Regions from separate parts of the Homo sapiens genome. Here region 2 is linked to region 1. Evidence: promoter capture Hi-C in human tissues and cell types (Jung and others, 2019). All regions are on one chromosome and are shown on one strand. Each heading gives the region's core, a stretch centred on a gene start or on the middle of the fragment in contact. The rest is flanking DNA. Distances are from core to core; before and after follow the strand shown. Region 1 holds the start of KCNJ5 (potassium inwardly rectifying channel subfamily J member 5). Region 2 has its middle 79 kb from the start of LINC01395.

Region 1 (5,298 bases), core at 1,784-4,283:
GCCTTCTCTCCACCATCCTTCCACCTCCAGCCTAAATAGTCAATCAGTATTGGCTCAGAAAATGTGAGTGTTTGCTAACATTCTCCTAAACAAAAAGCATAACGCTGCCCCAACGATCACATTCCAAGGTTTTCAAAAATTAATGATTGCTGGCACATGATAGGTGACCAAATGAATGGTTGTTGAACAAGAAAAAAAAAAAAAACAATGCAGAAGTGGATGCAGTTTTCAAGTACATGAAAGCACAGGACACCTGTTTGTGGCTTCGCCCACCGCAGGCAGGAAGAATCAGGTCATTTGAAGGGGAAATGGAAACCAGAGAATGGGCATTCTAGTCGTTTCTTCCCTCCTTGGGGGTTTACTTCATCACGGATGACTAGAGCAGCCTTCAGAGTCTCCCAAATTCCTGGACAAGAAACCCAGTCAGGTGCTTGCAGAAAGCCCCAAAGGGATTTTGCTTGGCACCAGGGACAGCGAGGCTGAGTACTGCTGTGACAGGGCCACACACGTGTCTCTGCTGGACCCACAGACAAAGAGCTCTGCACTGCTCAGGACTTGCCAGCAGACTCCAGGGAAGCCATGGTGGGGAACCCCACTAAGATCTGACTTCATCCCAGAGAAGACAGCTAAGCTTTGGGGACAGCCCTGGGCAGAGTGAATGTGGCCCAGGTTCGCTTTGACCCCCCCCCTCACCCTTGGCTCCTCCTTTAGCTGAACTGCTCACTGGATAGAGCACAGGCAGGCTACTTAAAAAATGCTGCCTGTGAGTAATGCCGGCAGTTTATAGCAGCTTTTGGAGAGGCCAGAAAACAGCCATGCCTGAGTGGCTGGTTCCCTTTCTGTTGGAGAGCTAGGTAGTAGGTCTAGAACGTTGTTCTGGGGACAATCCTTGTGCTTTGTGGAATGTATAGGCAAATTTTCTATCCTTTCTTTTTCTTTTTTATTTCTTTTTTTTTTGAGATGGGGTCTTGCTATGTTGCCCCAGTTGGTCTTGAACTCCTGGGCTCAAGTAATCCCCTTACCTCAGCCTCCTGAGCCAGCAATTTCTCTATGTGTTGTTTCCTGTCTTTCAATGGTGGCCCTGCTGCTGCTCTTCCAAGAAGCACATACGCTGTGCCCCAGGCCTCCCACTGAAGGCCTTATGCCTCTAGGCAGAATGGTGCCATCTCAGGTGGGGTCCATAGATAGTTTAAAATACCAGCCAAGCTGACCAAACTCTTTATGCCAGAGTCCAACCATGGGCCTCTAACTCCCACATCATTTGCTCTGCCCTGTTCGTTCCTCAGATTCCAGGAAGCCTGAGCGCCTCATTCAGCCAGATGATGCAATTTACACCTGGCTTTGAGGAAAAGCAGGGATGTGGAAAGACAAGAGCAGCTTTCAGAATTAGCTTTTGTTAGTGGAAAGACCCTGGATTTAAAGCCAGAGGACAAGAGTTTTGGAGATAGCAGTGCTGCTGCCACTTAGTGCCTGGAATTCTGTTACCCTTACTCTCATCTATAAAACAGAAGAAATAAGCTCTGCCCCACAGGACTGGTGTCAAGATGAACTCATGTAAACGTATATAGCTCGGCACCTTGGTTTCATAAATATTAGCCTTTTCCTCACATGGAAAAGTGCTTTGAGAACCAGAAAGCCCGATAAACCATATGGCTTTTGATGAAAACGAGGCACATTTTGGAGTCAGATATAGGAGAGAATCTCCCTTTATGAGCTGTGCACCTGAGGCAAATTGCACAGCCTCTCTGGGCTTCAATTTTTCACCTGTAGAATGAGGATGATAATCTCAGCTTATTAAAAGGATTGAAACAGAGTAAAATACTTGGCGTGTTCCTGTTGATCTTCTTCTGGTGTTTGAAAAGGCTCCTGGAACAGGTTTTGGGCTGGTGTTGCTCACCCTGATGTTCAGGGTAGGCCCTAGAACTTTGGGGGCCGGACCTGAGGCCCTCCACAGCCCCTGGGGTTGGAGAGCCCTGTTTGAGGGAAGGCACAGATAAAACCAGGGGGCCAACAGCTCTGCAGGGAGAAGCACTGACTTGAAGAGAAGGGGAGCAATGACAAGGCCGGCCTTCTCTGTTCCCTATCCTCTGTCCTCACAGGCTTGACCCCTGGCCTTTCTGAACCATTTGAAAGCTCTTTAAAAGGAGATAGGGAGGTACGCAGGAAGTGACTTGGGCAGCGAGGGGGGCAGAAATCACAAGGCCGTGTTTCCAGTTTGGCCACACTTAAAAGAGAAAGCAAGATTAGGCTGGGGATCTAAGGCTGAGGGGGGCACCGCCCCCCATCCTGGCCCTCCCTGCTCCCATTTGAAGGAAGAGTCCTACCAGGTGAAAAATGTCCTCCACACCCCACCCACTCCTGGCCACTGTTGCCTCTCAAACCACTGCTGGGAGATCTGGGGCACCCCCAGGTAGCCCTGGTCTAGTGCCAGAAGTGAAGGTGTTTATGGCTGGGCTCCCAACGCACAGGGCAGCCTGCAGCCACGGAGATCTCCAATTTCCTAAACTTGGACCTGCCCTAAGCTTTTCCTTATCCCCCCTGGCTCCCAGTCTAGCAGGTTCCCTGTGAAAGCCTGCTGCCCAGGTGATGGACACCTGAGGGTGTCATCCTGCCCTCCAGAACCCGCGAGCTGGGGGAGAAATGGAGGAGGAAAAGAAGACAACTTACTTGTTGAGATCGGAGCTTCCGAGTCCCACTGATGCTAACTTCTGGGGTGTCCCTTAGCGGCGGTGCAGGGGGGCTCAGGGCTTTTGAGGGGACTCCCCAGCCCCTGCCATGACCCCACGGAGGAGCTGTAGCTGGAACCTCTCCCTGTTGTGGGGTCCTGTGGGCAGAGGTACCTAAGCCATCCTGTCCCTTCACTCGCGGCCCCTTGGGTCACTCCCTTTCTCTAGCGAGAGCAGCTGGAACAATCTCTCTCTCTCTCTCTCTCTCTCTCTCTCTCTCTGTGTGTGTGTGTGTGTGTGTGTGTGTGTGTGTGTGTGTGTGTGTCCCCTCCTCCCTCTCCTCTCTCCCTCCGTCCCTGGTACAAATGAATCTCTGGGTAGTAACGCGACTGGAAGGGCCACCGGCGTTGGCGGCGGGGGGCGGGCTGGGGTGGGGCGGGGGCTCCATGTGATCCGGGACGCCGTCAGCTCGGCAGGACTGGGAGGGAAGAGGAAGGCGGAGAGAGAGCCCGGCAGGCATCCAGCCCTCCGCTCGCGTCCCCGCGGCCCCCTGCGCCCTCCCCCGGCTCCCCCTGCCCCCGGCTGCACCCCTGCTGCGGGGTGCCAGGGACGGAGACCCGCGCGCGCGCGTGTGAGCGTCCCATGCCTGTGTGTGAGCGCCGCGTGTCACGCGTGTCCGTGTGTGAGCGCCGCGTATTTAGTGGGTGCGGTGGAGCAGACAGAAAGAAGGGAGAAACTATTAGGGCAGAAATCTTGGCTCGGAGCCTCGGCGGGGCTGCTCAGTCGCTCCGCGGTGCGCTAAGCGGACGGTTGGCAGCATTTCGCCGTTTCCCGAGAGGGATGGAGCAGATGGGGGGATTCCTTTGGGAAGGCGGGGGAGCCACAGTCTGGGCGCTGCATCCCCCGCCCGACGGCTCTGATTCCCGCCGTGGAGTGAGGGTCCGGGGGCCTGATCCGCCAGCTGCAGGGGGAGTAGGTCCAGGGACAGGACCCAGGCTAGCTGTCCCCGGGCTCGCTGCTCACCCCGGACGATCTCTCCCCGGCGTGCGGCGGCGGCTGGGCGGCGATGGCTGGAAACGCGCCCTGCACGGACAGGAGGCGGGAGCAGCCCGGAGGGAACGGAGCTCAACCTTGCCCAGGCGTGGGCAGAGCCGGCGTCCTCCGCGCCACCTCCCGGCTCTCCCTTTTGGATTCCTACCTGCCTTGAGGACAGATGATGACCAGAGTGTGTTCTTTAATTCGTGGAAGCCGTAGGAAAGGCAGCTGCCAGGGCAGGCTGAAAGGGAGGGCTGCTGTCTGGGGAGGGCCGGCAGGTGCCTCTGAGGACCGGTCTGTTCGGGGTGGCCCTTCTCACCCGGTGGTGTTCCTTCTGGCCCCTCTCCGTTACCCAGCCTTTTGGGGTCAACACCCCCCCTGCCAGCCCCCTCTCTCAGGGCAGACACAGCTGGTCAAACGTGGGGTGCCCTAGCACCTAGCACAAGTGCTAGGTGAATGATGTCTACGACCAGAAAACTGGTTTATTACGTTGCAATGAGAAAAATGCTTGTCACTAATACTGGAGGGCACCAAGTCCATCCTCTCCTGTAAGGACAGTGACAGGGAAACTTAGTCTCTAACAGTGGCCTGGGGGTCCTCTTGCCTCGGAGACCAGCGTACACACAGCCCGTTGCCCAGGCACCCTCCCCTGGGACAGAGCACAGAGCGGTCCGGCCAGAGTGGGCCTCCTGATTGCCCCTCTTCTCTCTGTAGAGGGGGTGATTGTTAAATGTGGCTGCAACAGGCCCTAACAGGAAAGCTCTGTGTCCCCTTAGGGGACTCAGCTTGCCTAGGTGCTCACGCACTGCACCATATGTTGTTTGACCTCAGGGCTTAACACTATTGTGGAGAAAGTTCTTAATTCCCTAATTGCCTAGTTCTTGGGAGAGGCTTTGGCTGTGCAGTTCTCAGGTCCAGATAACACACACTATAATCATCTGCTGAGCCCTGAGGAGGGGCTCTGTCCTGGGGCAGCAGTTGCTTTTGGATTAGGTATAAAGACCATGATATTCCTTTTGCCATTACGGGGTGGGGGTCAGGGGACCTGGACTGACTTTAAAGCAAAATATAGGGTGCTCTGGGAAATACTGTTTTGCAAAGATTTTCTCAGTGATGGGACCTTGGATCGGGAGACAGAAAAATTTGTGTCCAGGTCTCACCTGAGAACTGAAAAACGCGAAATTTGGGGATTCTAGTCCTGAGCAATTGTTGCAACTTGGAGGAGCTTTGAGAGGCCCAAGCCTCTCAAAGAGCACAGACAACATCTGAGGATAGCAATGCAATAAAAGAACTACTCAGGGAGCGGTACAAGGTGCTAAGTATGTCTTTCATTGTCTGAAAATTGCTGAGGCGGTGCTTGAAAGCAACAGAAAATGTGTATGTATTATCACTGTTAATTAGAGTACAGCCTCACTTCTTCTGTTCTCTTTATCTGCTTCTCTTACCTTCTTTCATCGAGCGGGAGATGGGTTCACAATTAAAGATGTTCTCTTTAGAATATAAGACTTGCAGAAAATTATTTTTTTCTCCTATTTATAGAAGTTATATTTGCATTAGGAGCCTGGTAATGTCTCATAAATATTTCCTTTTAGATAAA
Region 2 (4,974 bases), core at 1,420-3,919, 800 kb before region 1:
CTGCACAGAAAAAGCAGGCTCTGGAGTTCAATCCCCTTCCCAGGTCTGCAGTTCTGACCTCCAAAAGAGGAAGATTTAGACAAACAACTGTGAGTCTCAGCTGAGCCTGGGCAGCCAGCAAGCCCTGGGCACGTGGACTCAAAGCAGCAGCAGGGAGGAACCTGGGGGTTCCTCTTTTGAGCAAGGATAAACCTGCTAGTCAGTCTGTCCTGGGATAAGTTGTGAAGAATTCATTTATTCATTCATGCACTCACTCATTCACTTGCTAAATCATGCATTCAGTATTTATTTTTTTTTTGAGATGGAGTTTCACTCTTGTCTTCCAGGCTGGAGTACAGTGGCACAATCTCGGCTCACTGCAACCTCCGCCTCCTGGGTTCAAGTGATTCTCCTGCCTCAGCCTCCCAAGTAGCTGGGATTACAAGCATGCACGACCATGCCTGGCTAATTTTTTTGTATTTTTGGTAGAGATGGGGTTTCTCCATGTTGGCCAGTCTGGTCTCGAACTCCTGGCTTCAAGTGATCTGCTCTCCTCAGCCTCCCAAAGTGCTGGGATTACAGGCGTAAGCCATTGCACCCGGCCTCATTCAGTATTTATCCAAGTGCCTCTATGTGCCATCTACAATATTGTTACAAATAAGACCACCCAGCTCAGGTCAGGGTTTCTAAAACATCCTCTTTCATGAGAAGAATAGCTGAGACATGTGTAGGCTGACCAGTGAGCTGGGTCTTTGTCCTTGGCTGGTCCGTGCTTGGGGAGTGAGGATTGCAGAAGAAGAGGCAGGAGAAGCTGATGCTTGGCTTCTGTTCCCCTTTACCTTATTTCTCCTTCACCCTCTTTTCTCCCCACCTCTCCTTTGCGCCCCAAGTTCTTTCTCCTAAATATCTCTGAAATCCGTCCTCCCACTCCAGCCCCCCGCCACATCCTGCTCAGGGCCTGCCTTGTCTCTTGCTTGGACCAAGGCAACAGCATCCCACAGAGCCTCCTGACTGAGGCTCTTCCCCTCCTCTCCTCTCTCTATAATGCCGTCAGAGAATCCTGTTGGAAAAAAACCCCTGGGGAGTCAAGCATTCTGCTTACAATCCTTTCGCCACCCCACAACTTATCCCTTGCTTGATATTCCAACCCCCTTGGGAACCTTTCTTCCATCCCTTCTGGCACCCCAGGCCAGCTCCTGCGCTGGCTCCAACGGTGTACGTGCCACCCTTAGGTCCCCACAGTAAGCTCTGCACATTTCCACTCTGGCTTCTTGTACCTCTTCACATGAGGTGCCCTGCCTGGGAGCCCTGTTCATCCCTGCCTGGAATTTTTACTTTCCTCTAAGACTGTTCCAAGTCACCTCCTCCAAGGAGCCTTCCCTGACCAGCTAAAACATAGTCATGGATATTTTGTCATGTGCCCTAATAAAGCTTCCTTAAACATGACTTTCACTCTACACATGAATTTCACTGTACTGTGATTATTACTTTGTGTCCCCCAATTTGACTTTGAACCCTGCATGGGCAGAGATAGAATTTTATTTATCTCTGTGTCCTCAGCCCCTAAATAGGGCCCAACATTCATTGATCCACTTTCTCCTTCATTCTTGTTGACTTGATTCTCTGCCTGGACTGTGTTAATCGCCAGGGGATACAAACAATGACAGGGTGCACCCACAGCCTCATGGACATGACAGAGGACCAAATGTGGGATTGGAGAGTGGTGTGACGAGAGCCAGGATCGCAGGGAGCCTGGGGAGCCCCGGGCCATTCTGGTGGGGCAGGAGGCTGAGCTCCTCCTGGGGCACCAGGCCCTCCATGCCACACACCTGCAGAGCTCTGGGCAGGCACTTGGCTGAAAGCATTATCCTTCCTTTCAGAGGGAAGTTTCAGCAGGGCAAGGCCTGTATTGCTGATCTCTGCTGTTTACAGAGATCTCAGTCTCTCCTGGGGCTGAGGGGCATTGGTGCAGTGGAGCTGCGACCTGAGCCGGGTCCTGGCTCTTAGGTAGAGTCCTGAGACTTTCATACGTCCTTTCCACACAGGGGGTCTCACGCACAGACCTTATCCTGGAGGGTCACGGCTTTTTTCACAGAGATGGACGTTGAGAGATAAGCGCCCCAGGAACTACACAATTACAGTTGGGAGAAATATGGTGAAGAAAAACACCGGGGCCAGGACATCTTGTGTGACAAGGAGGCCTCCCAGGAGAGTGAATCGATGTGACAATGTGTCCTTCAAGCCTGGGTCCAACTCCCATGTGGGGAGTGGCTGCCTTGGTTCCCAAGCCGATCATCCTGCAGGCAACCCCTCTGACCACAAGGGGGCCTGCTGGAGCCTGGCCTGGCCCAGCCCTTCCCGCCCAGAAACACCTCCCGGTCTGGTCCCTGCTGTTGGTGACTCAAGGAGCCAACACCTGTCTCCAGAGGTCAAGGCCACCTTGAGGGTATAGGGTGCCCGGGCACTCCACACACGGGGCGTGGAGGGAGTCTCCCGGCCGGGCCAGCCCCGGCTTCCTCTCAGTGGAACCTCTGCTGCGTGGGAGCCCTCGCGGGCTGGCTGGACCGACCCAGCCTCTGCCCCTGGCTTCCGCTTCTACCCCACTTCGCTTCTTTCCCCCAGGGTTGCCAGAGAGCTGCTGCCAGTTTTCCCAGCACATTGCTCACAGGAAATTAGGGTCTAAAGGTGCAAGGTGAGAGAGAAAAGCCATACATGGAATAACTGAAACTACTGGGGGCTGCATTTCCAGCTCCACTCGCCCTGTGCGAAAGCACTGAGACCCCACCTTCCTCGCAGGCTCCTGCGACCGCCCTCTCCAGTGCTGAGGGTGCAGTTCCACCACGGGCCATGAGGGGCTGCTTGCCCGGAGCTCCTGGAGGGGGCCCGCGGGCCTGGCTCAGCTGGAAGAGGACAGAACACAGCAGGTTCCATCCGAAGCTTTACCTGTTGGCAGAGTGGGTGGTGTGTGCTTTGAGAAACATGGAGCAGGCTCAACAGAACCAAAGTCTCTTCCTCTCCAAGATTCAATCATACCTAAAGCTCTGCTGCTGGAAACTCATCAGCCAGGCTGTGTCCTCTCTGCAAGGCACTCTTTACAAACCGCTATAGAGGCTGCCTTTCTTTGCTGCTTTGCAGCGTAGGAAGTGCTTCTGGTACACACCTGATGGTCTCCCCGTGACACTTCTGGAGGGTAGGCATTCATGAGATGATTTTCTTTTGGCTGATGAGGGACTCGAGGACTGGCACCCAATTCCAGGTTGCCCACTTCTCTGTTTGATGTCCACTCCGTTACGTGGTGGCCAGTACCACTCAGGCGCGTAGATGTGAATGAATCTGCCTGATGACTGGACTCCATGGCAGCAAAGCAGGGCAGCCCGGCAGTGTTAGGGAAGTGGTGAGTAATCCCTCAGGGGAAGGGAGAGCCAAGGCTCTGAAGATGGGATGCCCACAGAGGAAGGAACCCCAGGCACGAGGGCAGACTTCCCTGCGTGCCAGGCAGAGCCTGCATTCTTGGGGGTGTGTGTGTGTGAGTTTTCACTCCTGTTAGTTCTTGGAGTTGACAACCAGCAATCACGTTTTGAATGGCCTCCTGGCCACGGACAGTGAACTGTGGGGTGTGTGTTCAGCGCTCTGTGCTGTTGCTGTTGTGGGAACAACACCCAGAGCTCCATCGGGCCAGGATGTCCAGCTCTGTCTCTCTCAGCTACAGAGACCAGGAGCTGTTTTCTGCTCACTTGGCACCTCTCTGAACTGTGACGCCACCTCCTGGCCGGGACTGGCTCCCCCCTGGGCTGTAGGGTGTTTCTATGACCTCTTATGCAGGATTGGGAGTAGATGCTGCTCTCAGTTCCTGCCGTGGAGGTCAGCGTGACCAAGCTCCGGGCCAGGCACTGCAGCCTTGCTGTGGCAGCTCAGCATAGACGCACCTCCGCGTGGGCAGCTGTGCTGGGTGCTGTTAAATCTCCTGCATGATCTCTGCCCTGCCCTCCAGGAGTTTCCAATGTCAAGCGTCTTAGTTAGATTATTGTTCCTCCCTGGGCCTCTCTCCCTCTGACTACAGTTGCTATTTATTATCACAATAAGGTCGTGTGATTCTCTTTATTTGGGGTGGGGATAAGAATACTGAACCAGAGCGGGGTCATATACTTAAATGGAGCCCCATACCTGCCACTAATTGGCTATGTGTTCTTGGGCGAGTTATGTGGCCTCCCTGAGTCTCAGCTTTCTCATCTGTGAAATGGGGAAGATAACACTACTCCTAAAGATTGTTCTGAGGCTGTAGTGAGAAAATGCATGCGAAAGCATTTTGAGAGCCACAGAAAGCAGTGGGAGCGAGGGGAGATGCTACTATTCTTAGTGAGGAGGCAAGCAGAATGGCCCAGGGGACTGATCGGCTGTCCCCCCCTTTTCTCCACTGTCCCTTTCCAGCACCTCCTCCCAGGGCCCTTGACACATGCCCATTCTGTGTCCCAAGTGGGCCTGCTCTCCATGCTGTGAAGTTTTTTTTTTTTTTTTTTTTTTTTTTGGAGACGGAGTCTTGCTCTGTTGCCCAGGCTGGAGTGCAGTGGCGCAACCTCGGCTCACTGCAAGCTCCGCCTCCCGGGTTCACGCCATTCTCCTGCCTCAGCCTCTCGAGAAGCTGGGACTACAGGCGCCCCCCACCACACCCGGCTAATTTTTTTATATTTTTAGTGGAGACGGGATTTCACCGTGTTAGCCAGGATGGTCTCGATCTCCTGACCTCGTGATCCACCTGCCTTGGCCTCCGAAAGTGCTGGGATTACAGGCGTGAGCCACCGCGCCTGGCCTTACACTGTGAACTTTCTTTCTCTTCCCTTCCCCTTCCCCTTCCTCTTCCCCTTCCCCTTCCCCTTTCCTTCCCCTTCCCTTCCCTTTCCCCTCCCCCTTCCCTTCCCTCTTCCCCTTCCCTTCCCTCTTTCTTTCTCTTTCTTTCTTTCTCTCTTTCTTTCAGTGGAGTCTCGCTCTGTTGCCAGG

The links. The method cuts DNA at HindIII sites, captures the fragments that hold promoters and counts their contacts. A contact is called where the count stands out against the background at its distance.
Region 2: a fragment that was not itself captured here is called in contact with the fragment with the promoter of KCNJ5 in region 1 in 1 of the 25 tissues and cell types used here (small bowel).

What each region holds. Positions count from the first base shown.
Region 1 is chr11:128,889,091-128,894,388 of GRCh38, reverse strand. It overlaps KCNJ5 (potassium inwardly rectifying channel subfamily J member 5), which reads right to left and starts at 3,033. Exons shown (of 3, transcript NM_000890.5): 1 at 2,668-3,033. The HindIII fragment of the contact is 9,287 bases long and covers 1,578-5,298 here.
Region 2 is chr11:129,693,570-129,698,543 of GRCh38, reverse strand. No RefSeq gene overlaps it. Among named protein-coding and RNA genes, the nearest start is that of LINC01395, 79 kb to the right of the region's middle. The HindIII fragment of the contact is 4,836 bases long and covers 252-4,974 here.